4 separate regions of the Homo sapiens genome follow, and all the other regions are linked to region 4. Evidence: promoter capture Hi-C in 16 types of primary human blood cells and fetal thymus (Javierre and others, 2016). All regions are on one chromosome and are shown on one strand. The core of a region is centred on a gene start or on the middle of the fragment in contact, and the rest is flanking DNA. Distances in the headings are between cores, read along the strand shown. Region 1 overlaps WDR11 (WD repeat domain 11). Region 2 overlaps C10orf88 (chromosome 10 open reading frame 88). Region 3 overlaps WDR11 (WD repeat domain 11). Region 4 holds the start of ATE1 (arginyltransferase 1).

The links. The method cuts DNA at HindIII sites, captures the fragments that hold promoters and counts their contacts. A CHiCAGO score of 5 or more calls a contact.
Region 1: a fragment that was not itself captured here is called in contact with the fragment with the promoter of ATE1 in region 4 in 1 of 17 cell types (M2 macrophages); the score reaches 5.5 in M2 macrophages.
Region 2: a fragment that was not itself captured here is called in contact with the fragment with the promoter of ATE1 in region 4 in 2 of 17 cell types (total CD4 T cells and naive CD8 T cells); the score reaches 8.2 in total CD4 T cells.
Region 3: a fragment that was not itself captured here is called in contact with the fragment with the promoter of ATE1 in region 4 in 2 of 17 cell types (M1 macrophages and M2 macrophages); the score reaches 6.6 in M1 macrophages.

What each region holds. Positions count from the first base shown.
Region 1 is chr10:120,897,619-120,900,318 of GRCh38, forward strand. It overlaps WDR11 (WD repeat domain 11), which reads left to right. Exons shown (of 29, transcript NM_018117.12): 20 at 2,411-2,519. Among named protein-coding and RNA genes, the nearest start is that of WDR11, 48 kb to the left of the region's middle. The HindIII fragment of the contact is 1,915 bases long and covers 438-2,352 here.
Region 2 is chr10:122,947,187-122,949,901 of GRCh38, forward strand. It overlaps C10orf88 (chromosome 10 open reading frame 88), which reads right to left. Exons shown (of 6, transcript NM_024942.4): 4 at 1,463-1,669. Among named protein-coding and RNA genes, the nearest start is that of C10orf88, 5.7 kb to the right of the region's middle. The HindIII fragment of the contact is 3,733 bases long and covers 1-2,715 here.
Region 3 is chr10:120,880,759-120,883,779 of GRCh38, forward strand. It overlaps WDR11 (WD repeat domain 11), which reads left to right. Exons shown (of 29, transcript NM_018117.12): 13 at 68-143. Among named protein-coding and RNA genes, the nearest start is that of WDR11, 31 kb to the left of the region's middle. The HindIII fragment of the contact is 939 bases long and covers 970-1,908 here.
Region 4 is chr10:121,926,781-121,929,599 of GRCh38, forward strand. It overlaps ATE1 (arginyltransferase 1), which reads right to left and starts at 1,251. Exons shown (of 12, transcript NM_001001976.3): 1 at 1,064-1,251. The coding sequence starts at 1,169. It also overlaps the pseudogene ATE1OSP. RefSeq lists enhancers at 463-612, 1,151-2,017 and silencers at 923-1,342, 1,533-1,832. The HindIII fragment of the contact is 6,802 bases long and covers 1-2,819 here.

The sequences.
Region 1 (2,700 bases), core at 145-2,644, 1.0 Mb before region 4:
AGACAAGTTAGAACGTAGGGCATTCTCCACAGCAGCTGACCAGGACTCTTCAAAAATGAAAAGGTCACATAAGGCCAAAACCAAAAAGGAAGAGGACCATTCTAGATTGGAATAGACTAAAGAGACATGACAATGCAGTGTACCAGCCTTGACTGGACCCGATTTTTAAAAATAATACAGCTGCCAGGACATTTGGGGAATAACAAGGGACTTTTGAATTTGGACTGCATTTTAAGTGATTTTACTGAATCAATATTAAAATTCTTGGGTGTAAAAAAAAAGTATTATTAAAAATATTTCCAATCACTTTCTGGCTTTTAAATTGAAAAATCCACATAAAATATTTTGTGTATAATTTAATTTTTATTTAACTACATAGAATAAAGTTTTCTAAAGCAGAGTTTTCCAATAGAAACATAATGTGAGCCACATAGGTAAGCTTAAATTCTAGTATCCACATTTTAAAAAGTAAAAAGAGATGAAATTGATTTTAATTAAAATTTTATTTAAGCCAATATATCCAAAGTTTTATTTCAACATATAATCAGTATTAAAAGTTACTAGTGAGACATTTTACTTTTTTAAAATTATTCATTCTTCAAAATTCTGTCAGTATTTTACATTTATTGTAAAATGAATTGCCCTCAAAATTTATAGGACAAATTTTCAGCACAAACAGTTAAGCTCTATTTAGATTTTATAAAATTTTCAGTTGAAAAAGTAGGCATGTATTCAAGTTGTTTCAAACATATTTAAAAGTTATCCAATGACTGAATCAATAATCACTTTTTAAGTTTAAATTAGACAAACATTCATTTCCTTCATTATACTAGCCATATGTTAAGTGACTATCATATTGGATATCATACTGGATAATTGCACAGTCCAGAGTTGATGTGGATCACTGATACGATTTGGCTCTGTGTCTCCACCCAAATCTCATGTCAAATTGTAATCTCCACAGGTCAGGGGAGGCAGCTGGTAGGGGGTGATTGGATCATGGGGGCAGATTTCCCCCTTACTGTTCTCACGATAGTAAGTGAGTTCTTAGGAGATCTGATGGCTTAAAAGTGTGGCACTTGCCCCCTCGCTGGCTCTCTCCTGCTGCCATGTAAGATGTGCCTTGCTTCCCCTTCACCTTCTGCCATGATTGTAAGTTTGCCTCCCCAGCCATACGGAACTGTTGAGTCAATTAAACCTCTTCTCTTTATAAATTACCCTGTCTCAGGTAGTTCTTTACAGCAGCATGAAAACAGACAAATACAGTCACTTAAATAAGCCAACACCATGTATAAGTTTGTGTCATTTTACATAATTGTGTCTATTCAAGGGATCCATGGATAAAGCCTCTTCAGGATTCTGGAGGGGAGTTGGTAGTAAGGCCAAGTTGTAAAAGCCAGGGCACCCCTAGAAATTTGGAGCTAAGGTCGAGTCCGATAGAGTGTAGGGTGGTCAGAGCAGAGCTGCTGGGCATTGCAGCCTTTAGGTCTTCTGCTTCTTTGCACTGAAACATGTTGACAACTAGGCAAATCTTGCTTGTTAGTGTTCTAAGTAAGCCAGCTGCTGGATGTGGGGGATGCTAGGGCCTAGAGTCTAAGAAGATAGCCCCTGTGTTCAACAGCTACCTTTATAAGTGAGACCTGGGAATGCTAGTGATCACAGGTGGCATGATCCCTTCAGTGACATACTCAAGGTTGATAGGCCATGTTAGTTGAATAGTCTCGGAAAAACAAAAGTACATACAGGTAAATATATTTATTTTTAATATTTAAAAATAATGAACTTTGTTGCTATTTGTTGAATCATTGCATTGAATCCTTTATTCAAGTAGTACCAGAGTTGTATACCACACAGGATACTTAAATTTTAAAGGGGAAAAGAAGGCCGGGTGTGGTAGCTCATGCCTATAATCCCAGGACTTTGGGAGGCCAAGGTGGGCAGATCACCTGAGGTCAGGAGTTTGAGACCAGTCTGGCCAACATGGTGAAACCCCATCTCTACTAAAAATGCAAAAATTAGCCAGGCATGGTGGCAGGTGCTTGTAATCCCAGTTACTTCGGAGGCTGAGGCAGGAGAATCGCTTGAACCCGGGAGGCGGAGGTTGCTGTGAGCCGAGATCGCACCACCGCACTCCAGCCTAGGTGACAGAGCGAGGCTTTGTCTCAAAAAAAAAATAAAATAAAAAATCAAAAAAGGGGGAAAAGAAAAATATGTTAATCAGATTTGAATGCAGAGACTCTCTCTGCTCTTGGCTTGTGTTTCCTAAGCGGTGACTACATTGAATATACTCTCAGTTGTTCCAGATTTACCTGTTGCTCTCTGCTGACTGCTCTGTAAATGGTTTATAGCTGAAGCTTCACTGTAGTATAAAACTTCATTTTATTTTTAAAAACCTTTCTTTGTTGTCTAGAGCCTGTGTGGTGCCCCTATCTCCTTGTTCCAAGGGCCTCTCTTGCCTTGAAAGCCTTCTTATTACACCAGCCTTGGAATGGACAGTATTCTTTGGACATTTCTCATGTGTAAGTTTTTCACTTTTCTTTTTCTTTCATAATTTACTTGGGGTTGAAAGACACCCATGAAAGTCAGCCATGGCCTGTACTCCAGCATTTAAAGGGAATGGAGCCTTTAAAGCCGAGAGAAGGCAGAGACACTACAGAATTGCCAGGCTGCCTCTGGGTTCTCGGGCCTTTGTGGAAGTGT
Region 2 (2,715 bases), core at 45-2,544, 1.0 Mb after region 4:
TCCATCTTTTTTGAAATTCTTCTTTCTGTGGTTTCCATAATCTTCAGCTCTCCTGGTTCTCTTAACTCAGCCCATATTATAATACTGGTACTACATTAATATTTGTGAACCACACAACATCTACAAGGAGTTCTTTACTTGCATTACTTATTTTAAATTTTCACATCAATTCTGTGATCCTTACAGTGTTATCATTTAGATTTTGTACATGAGGAATTCATATTGAAAAAAATATTAATTAACTTGCCATAGGATGCAGAACTAAGAAGAGGCAGGACAAGAGTTTGAAGTCACTTTACCTGACATCAAATCGTTTCTCTTGCTACTCTATCACACTGCTGCCTTCTATGTTTCTGGTTCCTTTTTCCTCTCCCTTCACCACCCTCCGTCAGCTACTGTGGGTACACCCCTAAACTTCCCTTCCAGCCACTGAAGGTTCATTCCATTTCTCCTAATCCTCTGTTTCCAGATGTTTGCAACATCCTTCCAGGGAATGTCTTATTCACAGCTAAAAGTCAATGTTCCCAAAATTAAATTCCTTTTTCCTCCAAGCATCCTCCTCCTTTGGGCTGCATTTATATTATTAGTATCACCATCTTCAAAGCCTCAATTTCATGTTTAACTTGATTTTTCTATCATAATACCAATATTAAGTTAGCTGTCAAGTCCCAATGGCTCCATCATTTTAGCATCATTTAGCATCCAGCATTATGTTACTACGTCCAATCTTAGACCTCATTCACTCTCATCTGGACGAGGGGAATGACGTGCAGCTCATCTTCTCCTTGTAGTCTCACTTTCTTCAGATTCACCTTACACTTGACAGTGGCTTAAAATTTCTTGAAACATAAGTCAAAAACATCTACAAATTTAAACCAGCATCCCAAGCTGTTTATGATCTAGCTGAAATCTACTTTAAACTTTGCCTATTACTTTTTTGCTTCAGAGAAATGAACTACCATTCATTTCCCAGCTATATCAAATTCTTCTAGCATTGAAGATTTTATTCACCTTATTTTTTGTCTGAAATGGCCTTCTTCCAAATTTACTTGTCTAATCCCACCCTACATTTTAAAGGCCTAGATAAAATACCACTTCTTTTAGTGAGCCTTTCCTTAGTGTTTTCATCATTCCCCACTTACATGCTCCAGAATGTAAAAATTCTTAAAGACTACAGATTAACTGACCATCTTCGCACACTCAAAATTGCTCAAACCAGTGCCTTGTTTACTGCAAGAAAAAAATCTTGCTGAATGAATGAATGCATTCATAAAAAGTGTGAAAATGTGTAGTCAAAACACTTTGTAGAAGGGCAAATCTAACAAATGTTAACTTCTACAAAACTAAAAGATAACAGTTAAATCAGTATGAAAGAAAAATTTTAAGTCACTACATTTCTTTACTAAAAGCAATGGTTTTGAAATCATTAATGTTATCTGGAAAGAAATCCATTTCTACTTACCCGCTGCTGACACCTAACCATATCCATCAACTGCTGAGCTCCAGGAGATAACTTTGACCCCATGGACTCCATTATGGTTTGGACCTTGTCAAGGTCTATCCTTGATCCTAGAGCAGGAGAGCTTGTTGAAGAATTTGCAAAAACTGATCTCATGTGTACCACAACTTTACTGATGAACACACACTGCCTTTCGCCAAAGGAGAGCAACTATTATAAAACAAAAGTTCCAGAAAAGAATGATATTAAAAACAATAATCATTTAATGTAACTTCTTGGTATGACCTAAACAAGAGTGAAGTATTCAAGAATCTAAAAATTAACTTCAAGTATATTTTAAACTTTTCTCTAGAACAGCAATAGTCAGGAAAAATTCCAATTTATCATGAGGCTCAGATGAACTATTTAAATAAGAGTCCTTTCAAAAATTAAGACTTCATGTAAAATAACAAATGAGGTGATTAAATAAATGTTTACCTATTTAAAGAACTAAAAATAAACTATAGTAGTTCCTCTTTATCTGTGGAGAATGTGTTCTAAGACCTCCAGTGGCTCCCTGAAATTGCATATAGTACCAACCCCTATATTTTTTCCTATACATACATACCTATGATAAAGTTTAATTTATAAATTAGGTATAGTAAGAGTTTAACAATAGAGTAATTTTGACAACATAATAAAAGTTATGTGAATATGGTCTCCTCTCTCTAAATCTTACTGTGCAATACTTACCCTTCCTGTAATGACGTGACATGATAAAATGCCTACATAATGAGATGAAGTGAGGTGAATGACACAGGCATTGTAATACAGGATTAGGCTACTACTGACCTTCTGATGATACATTTGGCTAGTAAGTGGCTAATGGGCAGTAACATATACAGCAGGGACATACTAGACAAAAGGATGATTCATGTTCCAGACAGGACTGAGCAGGATGGCAGGAGATTCGATCACACTACGCTGAATGAAGCACAATTTAAAACTTATGAATTGTTTATTTCTGAAATTTTCCATTTAATATTTTTGGACCTCAGTTGACTGTGGGTAATGGAAACTGTGGAAAGTGAAACTGCAGATAAAGGAGAACTGCTATATACCAATCTGAGACCTTAACACACCACAACTTGCTACTTAACACAAAATAAGTCTGTCCAAATGCTCATGTAAAACGTTTACTGAAATAAGTAAAATGCAATCCTTTCAAATTCAGAACTATAAGAGAATATCAAAATGATGTAATATAGCTTGCTGGA
Region 3 (3,021 bases), core at 189-2,688, 1.0 Mb before region 4:
GTGGCTTCTTGTTTTTCATACATGTTTTATGCACTGTTCTCACTTTTTTAAATATTTGCAATTAAAGGTAGGAGCATTGCTTTTCGTGGTGAAAGAGGCAATGATGAATCTGCCATCGAAATGATTAAAGTATCTCATTTGAAGTAAGTGTCAACCTAAAAAAAAATCTATGGTGTTATCACAATGAAATCTCGTGGATTTTTTTAATCTTTAAGAAAATGGGAATGTGCTGGAATGCATATGGAATCTTTTTAGTGATAGCAAATGGTGATATGCAGCCCAAAGAAAATATTTTGATTACAAAATTAAGTTGCTATCACTTTTAATTCTCTACTTCTAAAAAGATGAAGTAACTTTTGCATGAATCGTTATTTACTTTCGGATAAAGTTCTTATGTACTTCTATCTAAGCATGGAGTTACTGAGTGAAAGAACTCATTTTCTTTATGTATAATTTAAACTCATTTTGCTTCCAGAAATTGAGTTTTTTTGTTTCAGGGGAAAATAACATGTAAAGCAGTATTATTAAAAATAGAAACTGAATGAAAATCAATCAAAATTACAAAGAAAGAGTAAGCTTTCTAAAGTAGTTTTCAAACTTGTTTTGGCTTTTCTAAGATCTTTGCATTTCCATATAAATTTTAGAATCAGACTATCAGTTTTATCAAAAAATCTTCCTGAGATTTTGATTGGGATTGCATTGAACCCATCAATCAGTGAGGGGAAGAATTGGTATCTTAACAAGTTTTGTAACTCATGAACATGGTATGTCTCTCCACTTATTTAGGTCTTTTAAAATTTCAGCAATATTTTGTAGTTTTCAGTGTGTAAGTCTTACATATTATTTGTTTATTTTGTGTTTTCTTTGATGCTTTTATAAATGACATTTTTAAATTTCAATTATTTATTATTTGTATATTAAAATACAGTTAATTTTCTGATATTGACCTTGTGCCTTGTGACCATGCTAAGCTTAGTTATTACTTCTAGTATAGGTGCTTTTGTTAATTCTTTAGGATTTTCTATAGAGACAGTCTCGTTTGCTAGTAAAGACATCTTTACATCTTTTCGATCTATAGGCCTTCTTTTTGCTTGCACTAATTAGGACCTCCTGTATAGTGTTGATTAGAACTGAGATGTCAGCTACGAGCTGACATCTTTGCTCTGATCCTGGACCTTATGGAGAAAGCATTCAGTCTTTCAACATTAAGTATGATACTAGCTGTAGATTTTTTGTATATTTCCTTTATCAAGTTGAAAAAGTTTTATTCCTAGTTTGCTGAGCCTTTGTATTATGAGTAGGTGTTGAATTTATCAAATGCTTTTTCTGTATTCATTGATATCATCATATGGTGTGTGTGTGTTATTTTGTTTTTCTTTTTGAAGTTCACTAATATGGTGAATTACATTGATTGATTTTCAGATGTTAAGCCAACATGACATTCCCGGAATAAACTCTAGTTGGTCGTGATGTATTACTGTTTTGACATATTGCTGGATTTGATTTATTGATATATTATTAAGAGTTTTATGATATATTATTAAGAGTTTTTATATCTATGTTCATGAAGGATATTGGTGTCGTTTTTATGTAATATCCTTTGTTTTGGTATCAGGGTAATACTGACCTTGCAGAACGTGTTGTAAAGTATTCTCTCTCCTTTTTTTTTGAATGAGTTTGTGTAGAATTGATATTATTCTTACTAAATGGGAAAAATTTATTAGGAAACCCATCTGAACCTAAAATTTTCTTTGTGGCAAAGTTTTTAAATACAAATTCAGTTTTGTTTTTTTTTTTCATAAATATAGGACTATTTAGATTCTCTTTTTTTGAGCTTTGGTAATTGGTGTCTTCCAAGTAATCTGTCCATTTTGTTGAAGTTGCTGAGTTTATTAATTTATTGAAATAAGCTTGTTCATCATGGATCTATGATCAGTGATTATCTTTCCCACTCCTAATATCAGTAAATTATATCAACCAATTTTATTTATTGATCTTTTCCAAGAAACTACTTTTGATTCATTTGATTCTTCTCTATGATTTTTCCATTTTCAATTTCATTGTCTGTCATGCTTATCTTTTGTTCTTCTGCTTACTTTTTAAATATGCTCTCCTTTTTTTACATAGTTTTCTAAAATAGAAACTTAGATAATTGAATTAAGTTGATTCTCTAAAATGTAATGTAAACAGTTAATGCTATATGAGCACCAGTTTTCCTGTATCCTACAATTTTTGTTATGGTTATATGTTTTCATTTTAATTCACATTATAATCTTTAAAAATTTCCATGGGGTGTTATTCAGAGGTATATTTTTTAACTTCAAACTATTTGGGTGTTTTGCCAGGTATCTTTCTGTAAATTTCTACTTTCTGTTGGGGTCACACATGGTCCTGAGTGGAAGAATCTCAGTCCTTTGATACAGGGAGTACAGGGATCTTCCTACTCTGTCACATTTCCTCTATGTCAGCCATCATTTGCTGATAATATTTTAGTTCCTCATAATGCTTATTGAGTAATCAGTGCTCAAATTATATTTGTTGAATTGCACTCGTTGATGTCATTCAGTACTTCTTTCAGGCTTAACAGAAAGTGAATAAAGTGGCATTTGTTGAATACCAACTGTAGTAGAATGATAGAAACTTTACATACTTTTTCATTGAATGTTTACCATAATCTGTATATCAATTAATTGAGGTACATGATGAGATTCTCCTGTCATGTGTGAGAAGTTGAGCCTCAGGAGGGTTAACATAAGTTGTGGCATCAGGGTTTGAATCTATGCCACTCTTTCTTCCAAGTTGGACTCCTTGCCTAATTGTGTGAGACTGTATGTTCTCTTACAGGTCACTTAGAGCTTTACCTTCTTATGACTGTTAATCATGGTGCTAAATGGTAGTTTAAATTGTCTATATTTAGAATGCGTCAGCTGAGTTTTTCAATTTACTGAACTTTTTATTTGCTCTAATTCATGGTGAAATTTTTGCAAAAAGGGGCTTATTTAGTAATTTTGTTTATTTTAG
Region 4 (2,819 bases), core at 1-2,500:
GTAATCATGTCGCATAAGCCATTTGCATCCTGTTGATTTTCTCCGTTTAAGTCCAAACTGGAAGCATTTTTCCATTTAGTCTTCATAATCCTCACTTCTAACGATTGCATAACTGTCTACTCAAAACCGCTGCCCACAAGTAGCACTTAATAAACACTTTTAATGAAGGAGCAAATGCACACACCGTTATCGACCAAATCATTCCCCACTTACACCTTTTTCATGGAAAATGCCTGTGTGTTTTCATGCGAATCTCGTTTTCCACAAAGCTAGACTGTTCTATTAAAATAATAGAGTCTACATTCTATATTGGCAAATGCATGGCAAGAGAGGAAATAAACACGATGTTTTGTTTACCAGCAACAAATCTCCCCCAAAGAAATCTGAATCACGATGGAAAAACAAAACAAACTTGTGGGCTGGCTTTGCTGTCGTCCGGGTGGGTGGAGGAAAGACACGGCATATAAGCAAATGGTAAAAATTTCAAACAGATCAGGACAAACAGAATCCCTCGCCGGTAGCGACCGCGGTCACCAGTTTCTTGTCCTTTTTTTTTTTAACTTTTTTTTTTTTTAACCCAGAGATGCAAAGGGCTCATCCTTCCTGTACATTCGTCCAGGGAAGTCTGATTCATACATGACCGGCACCTGTGTGCACACCCACAGCTCCCTCTGCACCGCGTTTCGCCCTCGCTCCCGGGACGCTCCCACCGCAGCACCCACCGGTCAGCCCCGGCCATTAACTACGGCTCTGGGGCGTTCCCTGGCACTGCGCGCCGTCCTTCACCTCACACAATCTACCCCAGACGGGCGTCCGTCTCCCGACTCTGGGGAGACCACCACGATTTCGAGAGTACGGGCACCGGTTAGGATTTTCCTGCAGAACAGGCACCGCGAAGCTGCCCCGCTAAGCCGGCGCCGCGGCCCTCCCGAGAGTGCCCCCTCCGTCTCGGCCGTGGCACTGGGGCCAGGGGCTCCGGCCCCCTCGCGTCCTCGCTGGGGGACCCTGGGATCCCGAGACCCGGGCGCCCGGCTTCCCACGCCCGCCGGCCCGGCTCGCTCACCATTGGAGCGGCTGCCCGACTCGTTCTTGCAGTAGCCGCAGCGGTAGAAGTCCTCGCTAGGGAAATAGTCCACGACGCTGGGCGAACCCCCCGCCCAGAAAGCCATGGCCTCGGCCCCGCGAACGCTCAGCCGCCCGGCCCCGCGTCGCTAGCGCGGCCGCCGCCGCCACCCCACAATGCAGCGCGCCGCCCGGGAGCCTCCCGAGGCTCGCGCGAAGCCACTCGGGCGCCCGCAGGCCCGGCCGGCCCGGCGCCTCTTGGAGCTGACGCCGCCCGCGCCATCTTGACCGAGGGCAGCTTTCCACTATTTCCGTTCCTTCTCCATAAGGGGCCGCCGTCGTCAGTGAGGGTGAGGCGGAGAGACAGAGCGGGAAGGGAAACAGGATGGGGAGAGTCAAGAGGGGAAGGGAAGCGGGAGTCGGGGTGCGAGCCTGCCCTTTCCCCCGCCGAGGGCCTGTGCGGGGCGCGGCGGCCGCGCCAACTCCGGCGTCGGGAACACTCACCGCAGGACGCTTTGCCCTCCTTGGAATCGCAGTAGCCGCAGTGGTAGCCGGCCCTGAGGCCCTTGTATTCCACCACCGACGCCATGGCCGCCGCGAGGGTCCGCTCGGGCCGACCACGCCTCTTGGCGCCCGGGGCCGACCTCGGCGAAGCGCTGGGGCCCGCGGCGGGAGGGGTGGAGAGCGAAGCCTGGCGCGGGGACCCGTGGGCGGGGATGGTGGTCGTGTCCCCAAGCCCTGCGTTTGGGCCGGTGCTTCCCACAGCTGTGCGTTATCAGCCCCATTTCACAGGTAAGGAAACTGAGGACCGGAGGTTGTGATTATCCCAAAGTCATTCCCGGCGGGTCTCGGATTGAAAGTCAGGCCGCCCCTGGCCACCGTGTAAGTGACTTGCTGGAGCTGCTTCCAGACCAGCTGGCACGCACTCCAGTGCCCTGAATACAAGAACACAAGCAGGTATTCCGTGAATGGCGAGGGTTCGCAAATTAAAGAACTCTTAACGGCTTTTAAAGGAAACAACTGTCAGCTAGAGACAGTTGCTGTCTTGTACCACTATAAGTCCGGTGCCTCATACGATTTTTAATGAGATGCTGGAAATACAGGGTTTGTTTGTTTTTTTTAACTCTACAGTCCAAACAAAACAGTTTTACAGGCTGAATCCAGCCCATGGGCCTCCATTTTGCAACCACTATTTTAAGGAAGATTTAAGGAATAAGAGTCTAGGGCAAAATATAAAATTGAGGCTCATGCCTGTAATCCCAGCACTTTGGGAGGCCGAGGCGGGCGTATCATGAGGTCAGGAGATTGAGACCATCCTGGCTAACACGTGAAACCCCGTCTCTACTAAAAATACAAAAAATCAGCCTGGCGTGGTGGTGGGCGCCTGTAGTCCCAGCTAGTCGGGAGGCTGAGGCAGGAGAATGGTGTGAACCCGGGAGGCGGAGCTTGCAGTGAGCCGAGATCACGCCGCTGCACTCCAGCCTGTGTGACAGAGCAAGACTCCATCTCAAAAAAATTTTTTAAAAAATGAGTTCCAGGGGCGGGCGCGGTGGCTCACGCCTGTAATCCCAGCACTTTGGGAGGCCGAGGCGGGTGGATCACGAGGTCAGGAGATAAGAGACCATCCTGGCTAACATGGTGAAACCCCTTCTCTACTAAAAAATACAAAAAATTAGCGGGACGTGGTGGCACGCGCCTGTAGTCCCAGCTACTCGGGAGGCTGAGGCAGGAGAATGGCGTGAACCCGGGAGGCAGAG